2 separate regions of the Homo sapiens genome follow, and region 1 is linked to region 2. The links are contacts of gene promoters, found by promoter capture Hi-C in human tissues and cell types (Jung and others, 2019). All regions are on one chromosome and are shown on one strand. The core of a region is centred on a gene start or on the middle of the fragment in contact, and the rest is flanking DNA. Distances in the headings are between cores, read along the strand shown.

Evidence for each region. Contacts are between HindIII fragments. The study calls those that stand out against the background at their distance.
Region 1: the fragment with the promoter of ALKBH4 here is called in contact with the fragment with the promoter of SAP25 in region 2 in 1 of the 25 tissues and cell types used here (dorsolateral prefrontal cortex).

What each region holds. Positions count from the first base shown.
Region 1 is chr7:102,460,467-102,466,112 of GRCh38, forward strand. ALKBH4 (alkB homolog 4, lysine demethylase) reads right to left here and starts at 4,397. Exons shown (of 3, transcript NM_017621.4): 1 at 4,248-4,397. The coding sequence starts at 4,370. LRWD1 (leucine rich repeats and WD repeat domain containing 1) reads left to right here and starts at 4,518. Exons shown (of 15, transcript NM_152892.3): 1 at 4,518-4,694; 2 at 5,351-5,585. The coding sequence starts at 4,615. MIR5090 (microRNA 5090) reads left to right here and starts at 5,276; the gene lies at 5,276-5,360. RefSeq lists enhancers at 4,140-4,789, 4,919-5,445, 5,069-5,168, 5,446-5,646 and a silencer at 4,299-4,728. The HindIII fragment of the contact is 23,818 bases long and covers 1-5,646 here.
Region 2 is chr7:100,572,644-100,579,059 of GRCh38, forward strand. SAP25 (Sin3A associated protein 25) reads right to left here and starts at 1,257. Exons shown (of 6, transcript NM_001348680.2): 1 at 954-1,257; 2 at 654-757; 3 at 463-569; 4 at 217-370; 5 at 11-108. The coding sequence starts at 1,099. It overlaps LRCH4 (leucine rich repeats and calponin homology domain containing 4), which reads right to left. Exons shown (of 18, transcript NM_002319.5): 5 at 6,007-6,143; 6 at 5,756-5,868; 7 at 5,516-5,615; 8 at 5,179-5,269; 9 at 5,021-5,097; 10 at 4,854-4,915; 11 at 4,630-4,746; 12 at 4,443-4,511; 13 at 4,259-4,362; 14 at 4,051-4,134; 15 at 3,595-3,680; 16 at 3,228-3,365; 17 at 3,062-3,139; 18 at 1,368-2,661. The coding sequence ends at 2,464. RefSeq lists enhancers at 2,121-2,675, 2,676-3,229. The HindIII fragment of the contact is 26,041 bases long and covers 1-6,416 here.

The sequences.
Region 1 (5,646 bases), core at 3,147-5,646, 1.9 Mb after region 2:
AGGTGCAGGCAGAGCCTCTGCCCCAGGCTGACCGGGGAAGGCCCGCAGCCCTCTTGAGCTAACACGAATTTGATTGGTTTCCTTTCTCACTTTCCTCCCCTGTAAAAGAGAAGGGTTTGTACAACATGTTTTTCCTTCTCCATTTTACAAAGGAGGCTCAGCAAAGTTAAGGAACCAGCCCGAGGCTGGACAGCACCTCCTGCACTCCCATCTCCTCAGCTGCTTCCAGGAGGCCCCAAACTGCCTGACTACCTTGAATCTGTGCACCCTAATCTCTTTAGGTCTTTGCTGATGCCACCCCGGTGTCCCAGGGGTTGGCCCGTGCCTATCACCAGCGTGAGGGTCACCTAGGAGGGCAGCCAACTTCCCTACAGAGCTGAGCGTTCAGTTGAGCTCCTCAGTGTCCCAACCTCCCTTCTCCTCACTCTTGTCCTCAGGGCACCTTTCCAGACCCAGCATCACCCCTCAATCCTCATACCCTGGGCTGTCACTCAACTCCCACCCCATGTCCCTCTCTGCTCTGCCACCAACCCCGAGGCCTGGCGGTACTCTAAGGGTTCCCCCATGCTAAAGAAAGTCTAGAAACCAGGCCAGGCACGGTGGCTCACACCTGTAATCCCAACACTTTGGGAGGCCAAGGTGGACTGATCACCTGGGGTCAGGAGTTCAAGACCAGCCTGGCCAACATGGCAAAACCCCGTCTCTATTAAAAATACAAAAACTAGCCGGGCGTCGTGGTGCATGCCTGTAATCCCAGCTACTCAGGTGGCTGAGGCAGGAGAATCCCTTGAACCCGGGAGGTGGAGATTGCAGTGAGCCAAGATCGTGCTAGTGGACACCAGCCTGGGTGACACAGTGAGACCCCATCTTGAAAATAATAATAATACTTTTTGTTTGTTTGTTTGTTTGTTTGAGATGGAGTCTCGCTCTGTCACCAGAACTGGAGTGCAGTGGCACGATCTCGGCTCACTGCAACCTCTACCTCCTGGGTTCAAGCGATTCTCCTGCCTCAACCTCCCGAGTAGCTGGGACTACAGGTGCGCGCCACCATGCCCAGCTAATTTTTTTCTTGTATTTTAGTAGAGACGAGGTTTCACCATGTTGACCAGGATGGTCTTGAACTCCTGACCTTGTGATCCTCCCGCCTTGGCCTCCCAAAGTGCTGGGATTACAGGCGTGAACCACCATGCCCAGCCAATAGTAAATTTTTAAAAAAGAGTTTCGCCAATGAAATAGCCAGTATTTGCATCTGTGGCACTGAACATTTTACATGGATTATCTAGTTTCATCCCCAGGACAGCCCCAAGAGGAAGGTACCATAACTATCATGGGCAGGAGGTGTGGAGGTTCTGGCCGGAGTCACCCAGTGAGGACTTCGGAGGCCACCAGAACTCAGCCCTGGGCTCTGTGGCCTGTCTCCTCTTCCTCTTCCATCTCCAGGCTCCTCACACCCTGGGCTGCCACTCACTGTGGGCCGCTGTCTTTCTCTGTTCTTCCCTCCAGGGACCTCAGCCCCTTCCAATGCTTTACTTCCAGCCACCGACTCCAGCTCAGACCCCTCCTGAGATTGGCACTATCTCCTCCTGCTCCTGGGGCCCTCCCACGGGAAACATTAAAACTGGGAGTCCCCCGTGTGTCGGCTGAGCAGGCTGGACTTGTCCGAAAGGCCATGGAGCGCTCTTGAAGGGTTTTAAAGGAGTGACGAGGTCAAATGTGAATTTTAGAAAGATCTGGAGGGGGGAGGGGCAGATATGAAGGGTGGAGGCTGGAAAGCCAGTGAGGAACTGCCCCAGTGCCCTGAGATCCTGGATACCTCACTCTCCTTGTTCCATAGCCATCGGGTTGGGAAGATGTCACCTCCACATGGCCACTGGAACGGGTCAGACTTTCCGCAATTTTTTTCTTTTCTTTTTTTTTGTTTGAGGCAGGGTCTCGCTCTGTCACTCAGGCTGGAGTGTAGTGGCGCTCACAGCTCACTGCAGCCTTGACCTCCTGGGCTCAGGCAATCCTCCCACCTCAGCCTCCCAAGTAACTGGGACTACAAGCACACACCACCACACCTAGCTAATTTTTAAATTTTTTGTAGAGACAGGGTCTTGCTATGTTGTCCAAGCTGGTCTCAAACTCCTAGACTCAGGCGAGCCTCCTGCCTCAGCCTCCCAAAGGGCTGGGATTATAGGCATGAGCCACCGCACCTGGCCCCTTCCACAAATTAAAACTCTTAAGTTCATTCATATTGTTGTACAGCCGTCACCACCATTCAGAACTTTTTCATCTTGCAAAACTGAAACTCTTTCCCTATTAAACAACAGGTCCCCATCTCCCCTTCCTGAGCCCTTGGCAACAACCCTTCTACTTTCTGTCCCTGTGACTACCCTACGTAGCTCACACAACAGGAATCATGCAGTATTTGTCTTCTGTGACTGCTTCCTTAACTTAGCATCGTGTCCCCAAGGTTCGTCCATGCTGTAACATATGTCAAAATGTCCTTTTTTTTTTTTTTTTTTTTGAGACAGGGTCTCACTATGTTGCCCAAGCTGGAGTGCAGTGGCGTGATCACAGCTCACTGCAGCCTTGACCTCCCAGGCTCAAGCAACCCTCCCACCTCAGCCTCCTGGGTAGCTGGGACTACAGGTACGTGTCACCATGTATGGTTAATTTTTTTGTAGAGGTGGGATTTCACCATGTTGCCCATGCTGGTCTCAAACTCCTGGGCTCTGGCAATCTGCCTGCCTCGGTCTCCCAAAGTGCTGGAATTACAGGTGTGAGCCACTGTGCCCGGCCTGTCCTTCCTTTTTAAGGCTGAATAGTATTCTACTATGTGTATGCACCACATTTTGTGGATCAAGTCATCTCTTTTTTTTTTTTTTTTTTTTTTTTTGAGAAGGAGTCTTGCTCTGTCACCTGAGCTGGAGTGCAGTGGTGCGATCTTGGCTCACTGCAACCTCTGCCTCCTGGGTTCAAGCGATTCTCCTGCCTCAGCCTCCCGAGTAGCTGGGATTACAGATGTGCCTCACCAAGCCCGGCAAGTTTTTGTAATTTTAGTAGAGGCAGGGTTTCGCCATGTTAGCCAGGCAGGTCTCAAACTCCTGACCTCAGGTGATCTGCCCACCTCAGCCTCCCAAAGTGCTGGGATTACAGGCGTGAGCCACTGAACCCGGCCCAGGTATCTTGATAGATGCTTGGTTTGCTTCCATCTTTGGGCTGTCATGAATAATGTCGTGAATATGAACATGGGTGTGCAAATATCTCTTCCAGACCCTGCTTTTAGTTCCTTTGGATATATACCCAGAAGCAGGATTGCGGATCATGGGTAATTCTATGTTTAATTCATGAGGCATGCCATGCTGTTTCCATAGGACCTTGGGCACTTTTACCATGGACGTTGGGGCAGTCTTCACTGGCTTACCAGCCTCCACACCTTCATATCTGCCCGTTCCCTTCCCAGGATCTTTCTAAAATTCACATTTGACTTCATCACTCCTTTAAAACCCTTCAAGAGCTCTCCAGGGCCTTTGGGACAAGTCCAGCCTGCTCAGCTGATGCACCGGGGAGCATCTGTGATCAGACCTCCCCCCCCCCACAACCTCTCCAGCCTCATCTCTCTCACCTGAGGCATCACCAATCCACCTTCCTACCCCACGCAGTTTTCTGGGTTGGAATGCCCTTGCAACCAACCACAGTCCTTCCATGCCAGCCCAAAGGCGCTGAGTTCTTTTTCTTTTTTTATTTATTTTCTTTTTGTGAGACAGAGTCTCGCTCTGTCGCCCAGGCTGAAGTGAGGTGGCTCGATCATAGCTCACTGCAGCCTCCAGCTCCTGGGTTGCAGCGATCCTTGAGTTCCTTTTCGTTAGTTAACTGGAATTCACTGTCTCCTTGCCCATTGCAGTCCACGGCCTTCAGGCACCGTTGGACTGGTATTCAGCACCCTCGATCGACCCTTTCCGTGTCATCTCCCTGCAGGCCCGTGAAGCTCCCAGCGCCAGACCCGAGAGGCTACGTCGAGGTTTACAGGCAGATCCCCCCAGAGTCCCCGAGGTGACCTGTAATCGAACCCACCCACGTTCCAGCTCCTTCCCCACTCCCAAGCCCGCTCCTTAAAGCCCTCATCTCCTCACCCTGCATCACCCCTACCGTAAGGGTCCCTCACAGGCTTCGATCCCGGCCCCTATCATGGCCAAGCTGGACCTCAGTTTCCCCAGATGCAGAGCGACGTTTGTGGGCGCGGCCCCTCTCCCACCCCTTACCGCTGGGGGCAGCTCCCAGGGCGGGTCACTGCCGCGCTGCCGCTCGCAGATCAGACAGGTCCGGATGCCCTTGCAACCGCATTCCCGAAGGACTTCGGGGGTCTCGGCGGCAGCCGCCGCCATCGCGCCGTCCGCGTGGCCAGTGCGCAGGCGCGGCCGTGGGGGCCGCTGGGAGTTGTAGTCCGCGCCGGGCGGGGGCACGAGGCCTGGGTTCCGCTTCCTTCCGGTCGTTAACGCCCACGGGCTCGCGCGGCGCCGCCTCCTGGGCTCAGTTACCGCGGACGCCAGTGCCGGGCTCCAGGAGACGCAGGGCGACGCCACACGCCGGGGTGGCCGACTGGGTCAGCGCGGGCTGCGCCTCCTCGCCATGGGCCCCCTCTCGGCGCGGCTGCTAATGCAGCGCGGGCGCCCCAAGAGCGACCGGCTGGGGAAGATCCGGAGTCTGGAGTAAGAGCCGGGCAGCGGGTGAGGCTGTGTCCTCGGGGCCGGGCGGTCGGGGAGAAGAGCGGGGACCCTCCCCAACGGCCCGCTTGTCCCCGTTATCGCCCTCTGGGTTCGGCAGAGTGGTCCAAATGTCTTCTTGTTGGGAGATCGTGGCCCCACCCGCTCGCCGGGAGCCCCGAGGGGCCTCATCCCCTGAAGGGAGCCCGGACAGTTAGGGGCACAGCCTGCCGCTATCGTTAGAGGGCCTGGGAAGCACAGACGAGCCCCCGAAGGATCAGGAAGAGCATCCTAGAGGGGGCTAGGATGCCCCCGAGTCCTAAAGTAGTTGCAGCTTTTTTTTTTTTTTTTTTTTTTTTTTTTTTTTTTTTGTTAAGTGGTGTGGAGTCGGGAGTAGTGGCGCGCGCTTCTAGTCCCAGCTACTCGAGAGGCTGAGGCGGGAGGATCCCTCAGCCCAGGAGTTGGAGGCAGCTGTGAGCTATGATCGCGCCTAGGCGACTGAGTGACACCCCGTCTCTAAAAATAAAGTAACGGGGGGATGGGCGGGGCGGCTACACTTGTACGAGAAATGTCAGGTGAAAAAGCCTTCTGAGGTACCCGGGGCAGATTGGTGTAGGGTGCAAAGCCTGCCCGCCCCCTAAGCCTTCTGCCCCCAACTCCAGCCTGTCAGGATTGGAGCTGCTTTCCGAGCACCTGGACCCCAAACTCCTGTGCCGCCTGACGCAGCTGCAGGAGCTTGACCTGTCTAACAACCACCTGGAGACGCTGCCGGACAACCTGGGCCTGTCCCACCTGCGTGTCCTCCGCTGCGCCAACAACCAGCTGGGGGATGTTACTGCCTTGTGCCAGTTCCCCAAGCTCGAGGAACTCAGCCTGGAGGGCAACCCCTTCCTGACGGTAAGTGGGAGCCTCCCACCAGCTTCATACCTGGGGCCAGGACTCTGTTGGGCTCAGGCTC
Region 2 (6,416 bases), core at 7-2,506:
GAGCTCTCACCTGCTGGGGGGCCTTGGACAGGTACAGGGGAACACGCTGCCCCCGGGGCAGCAGAGGGTCCGAGAGGAAGACATCTTCACAGCACACCACCGGGAACCCTAGGAGGAAACACCACTAGGGTGGCGGGCTGCGGGCTCCCACCCCTGGGCACTGGTTCCCAGAGGAGTTGGGGCAGCCTTGCGCCCCCGGGGGACCAAGGGAGGTACCTGCATCTGGGGGCGCCTGCTGTCCATTCCAGTGCCCTGTGGCAGGGGCCACGGGCCTGAGACCCCTGCCCGAGGCTGCTTCATACAGCGGCCAGAATGAGGGGTGACACAGCGTCCGGCCTGAGAACGAGGCTCCTGAGCTACAGTTGGCCCCCTAGGGTGAGGAGGACAGAGCACTGGAGCCTCAGGCCACCGCACAGCTCCCTGAGCACCCCAGCCAGTCCCACAGGTTTGCCCCCAACTCACCCACACCGGCCGAGGTCCTGCTTTGGCTTCATACTTGGGGTCCCAGGGCGCTAGTGGAGTCATCCTCGAGGGGGCCACCTCCCAGGCCACCTGGGGGGAACGGGGATCTGGGGGGACGCTTGGGGATTATAACAGGCTCACAGTCAGTGAGAGGCTCTTAGGGGTAGTAGAGGCAGCAGGGCCTGTCCTACCTGGGGCTCCGGGGGGCTGCTCAGTGGCCGGGCCTGGCAGGTGGTGGGGCAGCAGCAGCTGCTCTCTCCAGATCCAGGAAGGGCTACGGGATGGGGGCTGTGGGCTGGAGGGGCAGGGACTGAGGCTGCAGCCACACCGCCCCCACGCACCCTCCCCTGGAGCCCAAGGGTGCCTGGTGCAAGGGAGACCGAGGGACCCAATCTCCAGCAGGGACAATGGAGAAGCCTCCGTAGAGCGCGTGGTGAAGGCATGGAGGCCCCCAGTCGCTGTCCCCCCACGGCTCCGTCCGAGCCCCTCACCTGTCCCATGGGGGTGTCCCCAGCTCCCTGGGGGCGTCCGCTCCGGCGCTCCAGGGCTCGCCCTGGTCCTTGCCCGCCGGAAGGCCTGGTCCCTCGGGCGCCTCCTCCGGGCCCGCGCCCCACCGCGGCGGCGACCAGGGCAACATTCCGCGTTCCCGAGCGCAGGACGGTACCGCCGTGTCCCCGCCGCCCGGCCCGGCCCTCTCAGCCTCCCTCCGCGGCGCGGCGCGAACGTGCCCTCCTGGCGAACCCACCCCAGAGGCCTCGCGGCGACGCTGGCGCCCTGTGCGTCTCCCGGCCACGTGGCGCGTGCCCCCGCCGGGCTCCCGCGGGCGCCCCCTGGCGACTGGGCGGTGAATTCCGGAAACAGAGGCCCCCCCAACAACCCCGCGACGCACGTGCTCTCAGACACAGTTACACCTGAGGGCCACCCAGAGGGCTTCTGGCTTCTGTTTATTGCGGCTGACACGACACCTGCGACACCCGCGGTCCTTCCACCCAGACCCTCGACCCCAGAGGCAGCCAGGCCGGCAGGCCAAGGGTGCCCAGGCCCAGGCCACCCTCACCACGTGCTTCTCTGAGAGCGCGGAGCCCAGGCGCGTCTTCTGCTCCCGGGGTCCCGGGCGGGGTGGGCCCTGTGCCCCCACCTTCACCCCTAAGGCCGGTCCAGCAGGGCGTGGACGACAGCAGCGATGTAGGGGAGGCCCCTTCCCGGGGCCCCCTCCTCTTCCAGGATGTGGTGGGGCTGGCACAGTGACTCCTGGGGGAAGGGGCCGGGTTAGCTTCCCCACGGTGCCCCCTGCGGCTTCCGGCCTGTGGCAGGGGGTCGGGGGCAGACCCGAGCATCACCGTGCGCTCGGGGCTCGGCGACAAATGAGACGCAAGAAAGCTGTCAGCGATAACAGAAGGGAGGTGACACGGGGGGTTGGCGGACGCTCCGGGAGCATGAGAGGCCGGCATCTCAGGAGGGAGATGCTGGTGGGCACAGAGCCATGGCCACAGCCACCAACACGCGGAGCAGACGCGCGCGCGCGCGCACACACACACACACAGGCAGGGCGGCCACGGTCTGTACAGTTTATACACAGAGATAGGGACCCGGCCTGGGCCCCGAACCCCTACAAATATAGATCCTCTCTACAAAATAGAGATAATTTAGCCCCCCCATAGCAGCTGTTGGGGGGGGAAGGGGAGGGCACAGGAGGAAGGGGGAGACTCCAGCTCCTGCCACCCCTCACGGGGTACAGAGGGCAGGGGCAGGGCCGGCGGGGACATGAAGGCACCGTCAGCACTGAGAGGTGGGGACTCGTGGGGCTACTGGAGGGAGGCCAGAGGCTGGGGGCCCAGGGTCTGGGGGCACCAGAGTGGGGCCTCTGAGGTCAGTGTCTGTGAAGGGGGTGCACTAGTGTCTTTGGTTGGGGCTGAAGGCACCGCAGGTGGGGTCGGGTGGAGCAGGGACCTTATAAATAGAGAGGAAGGGAAAGGGGTGAGGGAGGGCCGATTTTGGGGCCTAGGAACCCAGGAGCCGAGTGTAGGTGACATAGAGCAGCAGCATGAGGACCACGTAGAAGACGACGAAGCCGCCCAGACCAGAGGGGGGCCAGAGGGGCGGTAGGGCCTTGCCCCCCACCCGCTTCACGGCCTCCAGCGCGGTCCGCAGCCCCCGGGCAGTGCCCTGGAGGAGATCCGAGGGCGAGCACAGGTCAGCCTGGGGGAGAGGAGAGCAGGTGGACAAGGACAAGGGACAGACGTCAGCAGCAGCAGCAGGACAGTCCCTCCCACCCCTGCCCTCACGTGCTGGGGCCAGAACCACGCCCACATGCTGACGTGCTGGGCAGGGGGAGTGCAGTGCAGGAGGAGTGCAGGGCAGGGCATGTGCAGGACAGGTGACATGCAGGACAAGATGGGGCCTGCAGGGCAGGGGATGTGTAGGACAGGTGACATGCAGGGCAGGGGGCATGCAGGGCAGGGGGCATGCTGGGCAGGGCAGGGGCAGCCTGTGCCTTCATCTGAGAGCAGACATCCGCTGCAAATGGAAGCCCACCATCCATGCCACATGCTCGGCTGAGTCCGGCATGCCACCACTCTTTAGAAAGCAGCCCCCATACCTCAGGCACCCCCATTTTTCGACAGGCTTCTAGAAAACTCTCCACATTCTTCCGAGCCTTGAGGGCACTGAGTTTTGGCTGGGGTGGGTGAAAGAAGAAAATGTGGTAAGGGAGAGGCCACAGGCGCCCCGGCCCATCCCCCACCTCTTCCCCAGCCCCAACTGACCACAGCAGGGGAGGGCACATGGATGAAGGGCACGGAGCGCGGCCGTAGCTGGTTGGCCAGCTGGCACAGGATGACCCCACTGGCCAGAGCCTCGGCCAGGTCCTCAGGCAGGGGCCGCTGCAGCCGGGACTCAAGGACCTGGCAGTGTAGACCACATAGAGCAGGGGTCAGGGAAGGAGAGGCGTCTGGGAGGCAGGGAGAGTGGGGGGCTCAGGGCTAGCAGGGAACTTGTGCCTGTCCCTTCCTGTCCTCAGGGGAGGTGCCAGAGTGGGCACAGAGGATGTGGAGGGAGGCTGGTCCCAAGGACAGCAACACAAGGAGGTGCCCGGCCCAGGCCCCTGCCCACGCAGCTCCCGCCTCTGCTCACCTGGCGCAGCTGAGTCATTAAGTCCTTCTCATCTGGAACCTGGGGGTACCGCCGAGGTCTCAGGACAGAGTCTGGTGAGGAAGGGCCTAGGAGAAAAAGGGGGGCATGGGGCTGCCTCCACTGCTCACCACTGACTCTGTAGCTGGGTCCCAGTGGCCTGGCACCTACACCTCCTGCCTCTCTGCTTGTGGGATTTTTTTTTATTTCATGGAGATGGGGTCTCGCTATGTTGCCCAGGCTGGTCTTGAATTCCTGGGCTCAAGCGATCCTCCCACCTGGGCCTCCTAAAGTGCTGCGATTACAGGTGTGAGCCACCACACCCGGCTTGCTTGTGGGATTTTCAACGCAAAGGTACAAAAGGTACAACAGACCCAGAGGGCTCCCAGGGCAGAAGGGTGATGTAGCCGTTGGTGCTGGCAAGCACTGGGTCAGCACTGGGGAGGGCAGGACACCCACCTGAGCCACTCTGAGAGGAGGAACGGAAGAGGAAGCTGTTTGGTCTCTGAATGGAGCCAAGTGGCCGTGGAGCAGGTGCTGTCGCTGGGGCCGGAACCAGGGACACAGCGACAGGGGCAGGTGAGACAGGCATCCCCTCTGTGTCCCTCTCTCCCAACCAGCCCTCACCAACACAGGCCCCATCCTCCTCCCAAAATCCCTGTCCCACCTGGTCCAGCTATGGGAAGGGGCTCTTGGGAGGCAGGGGCAGGGGCGGGGGCTCCCTGCCCCGCTGCAGCCCCTGCTTGGGAGGCACTGGACTTAGGCGAGCCGCTGAGGAGAGACAGAAGGGAATTAGAGGGATGATGGTCATAGGAAGAGGAGTGGGGAGGGGATGCTGGCAGGAAACCTACTTGTGCATGGCTTGAGTGGACACGGCGGCGGCCCCTCCCACAACAGCCCTGAGCCCTGGCTTCAAGAGGCTGGAACAAGGAGAGGTGGGGTCAGCTAGCCCCAAGGCAGAACGGCTCAGCGGGGCTCGGTGGCCCCATTTCCAGGGCTCAGTGTCCAGCAACAGCCCCGGGCGGCCCTGGGTCCCACCTATCCTTCCTCGGGGCCCCCCACGCCCCGCTCTGCTGCTGCTGCCGCCGTTCCCGCTCCTGCCACAGCTGCAAGGTGTCCGGGCGCCGCCGCTCCTCCCCTGCCGGCTCCTCCCGCCTGAGGGACCAAGACAGGGCAAGAGGGGCAGACCCCGGGGTCAGGGAAGGAGGCGGTTGGGGGGTGGGAGGATCGGGCAGTGGCGTCAGTTTGGGGGCTTGGGGTACCTGCTGCTTGGTGCCCTCTCCCTGTCCCCTGCCCCAGGGCTTAATTCGGGTGGTCGCTGCTCCTAAGGAGAGAACAGCAGAGCAGCTGAGGGCAGGCCTGTGCCCACGCCTGCCCTGTCCCCTCCTCCAGCTCCCCTCCCTTGGGAGAGGCATAGCTGGGCTCTCACCTCCACAGTGCCTCGCTCTTCATCCTCCCCGGGGACATGGCTGTCGATGAAGTCAATCTGCACAGGGTCTCCGTCCGCTGGGGAGGCCAGCATGTCAGCAAGTGAGCGGGGACCCAGGCCCTGGTCCAGCCCAGCTCCCGGCCAGCCCTGCTACTCACCTGAGCCATCCTCCTTGCGTTCTCTGGGTCCCCGGGGCTCCCGGGCCAGCTCTGAGATCCGGAATGACAGCTCTGAAAATTCATCTGTTGACTGTAAAGGCAGAGGCAGAGATGGGAGATGGCCTCTCTGTACATGGGGGCTCAGGACCTGGGGGGTCCTGTGTGGGACTAAGCTCAGGGTCTCTGCTGAGCCAGCCCTTCCCTGGGATGCTGGGCAGAGGGAAGGAAGAGGACAGCTCCAGCCTCTGCCTGGCACCCTGCAATTTGGAGGTCCCCAGTTCAGAGGTGCTCTCCCAGGGCTGACACCCTCAATCACCCATGGACAGGACGCCCTTACCTCATTTCCAGACCACCTCTTGCTGCCACTATCAACGCTGTGGAAGCCTGAGTCCAGCCCACCATCGTACCGATGTCCCGGAAATAGATCCTCTGCAGGGCTGGGGCCAGCCAGGCGGATCTGGTCAGCCTGATGCTGGACAACAGCCCCCCATCCTCCTGCCAGAAAGCAGGGGGTGCCTGGGGCCGGGAAGGGGCATTCAGTATCCCAGGGCTTCCTTCCTCCCCACCTAGGACTTACCAGGGACTGAAACTCGGGGGCCGAGAAGGGGCCAGGTCCCCCAGGGCCGACCCACGCTGCCCGGCCTCTGTGGACAAATACTTGAAGATGTGAAGTTTCCCCTTCAGGCAGACCTGTGTGCGGGGCAGCACACGCCAGGGAGTTGGCAGGGAGGGCAGCTCCCCGGATCCTGCTCAGCTATCCAAGGGGACCAACCCCACTCCTGCCTAGCCACACCCCTGTCCTCGTGGCCCCCCAGGCACCCGCCTCACCTGGGCAGGTGGACTCTGCAGAGGGTTGCTGTCCAGCAGAATGACCTGCAGGTGCCTCAGGCGGCAGAAGGAGACTGGGATTCGGGAGACGCGGTTACAGGAGAAATCCAGGCGGACCAGAGGGAGGTCCCCCAGCTCTGGAACAGGTGGGCAAGGGAAAAGTCAGGAACATGCTCAGGGCTGTGGCCTCGTGCTCACTCCCTCACCCTTGGCTCCAGCTGGCCAGTCACCCTGGGCCCAGCACAGCCTCTCCCCTGGGTGGCTCAAGTCATTCCCCGGGAGAAACCTCCCTGCTCCTCTCTCCACATGATTCTGGTCCACGGTCTAAGCGAGCCTCCCTGAGAGGGCCCATCTGGACGTCAGCTCAGCTTCCCCGGGAAGGCCCATCCGGACGTCAGGTCCCGCCCAGC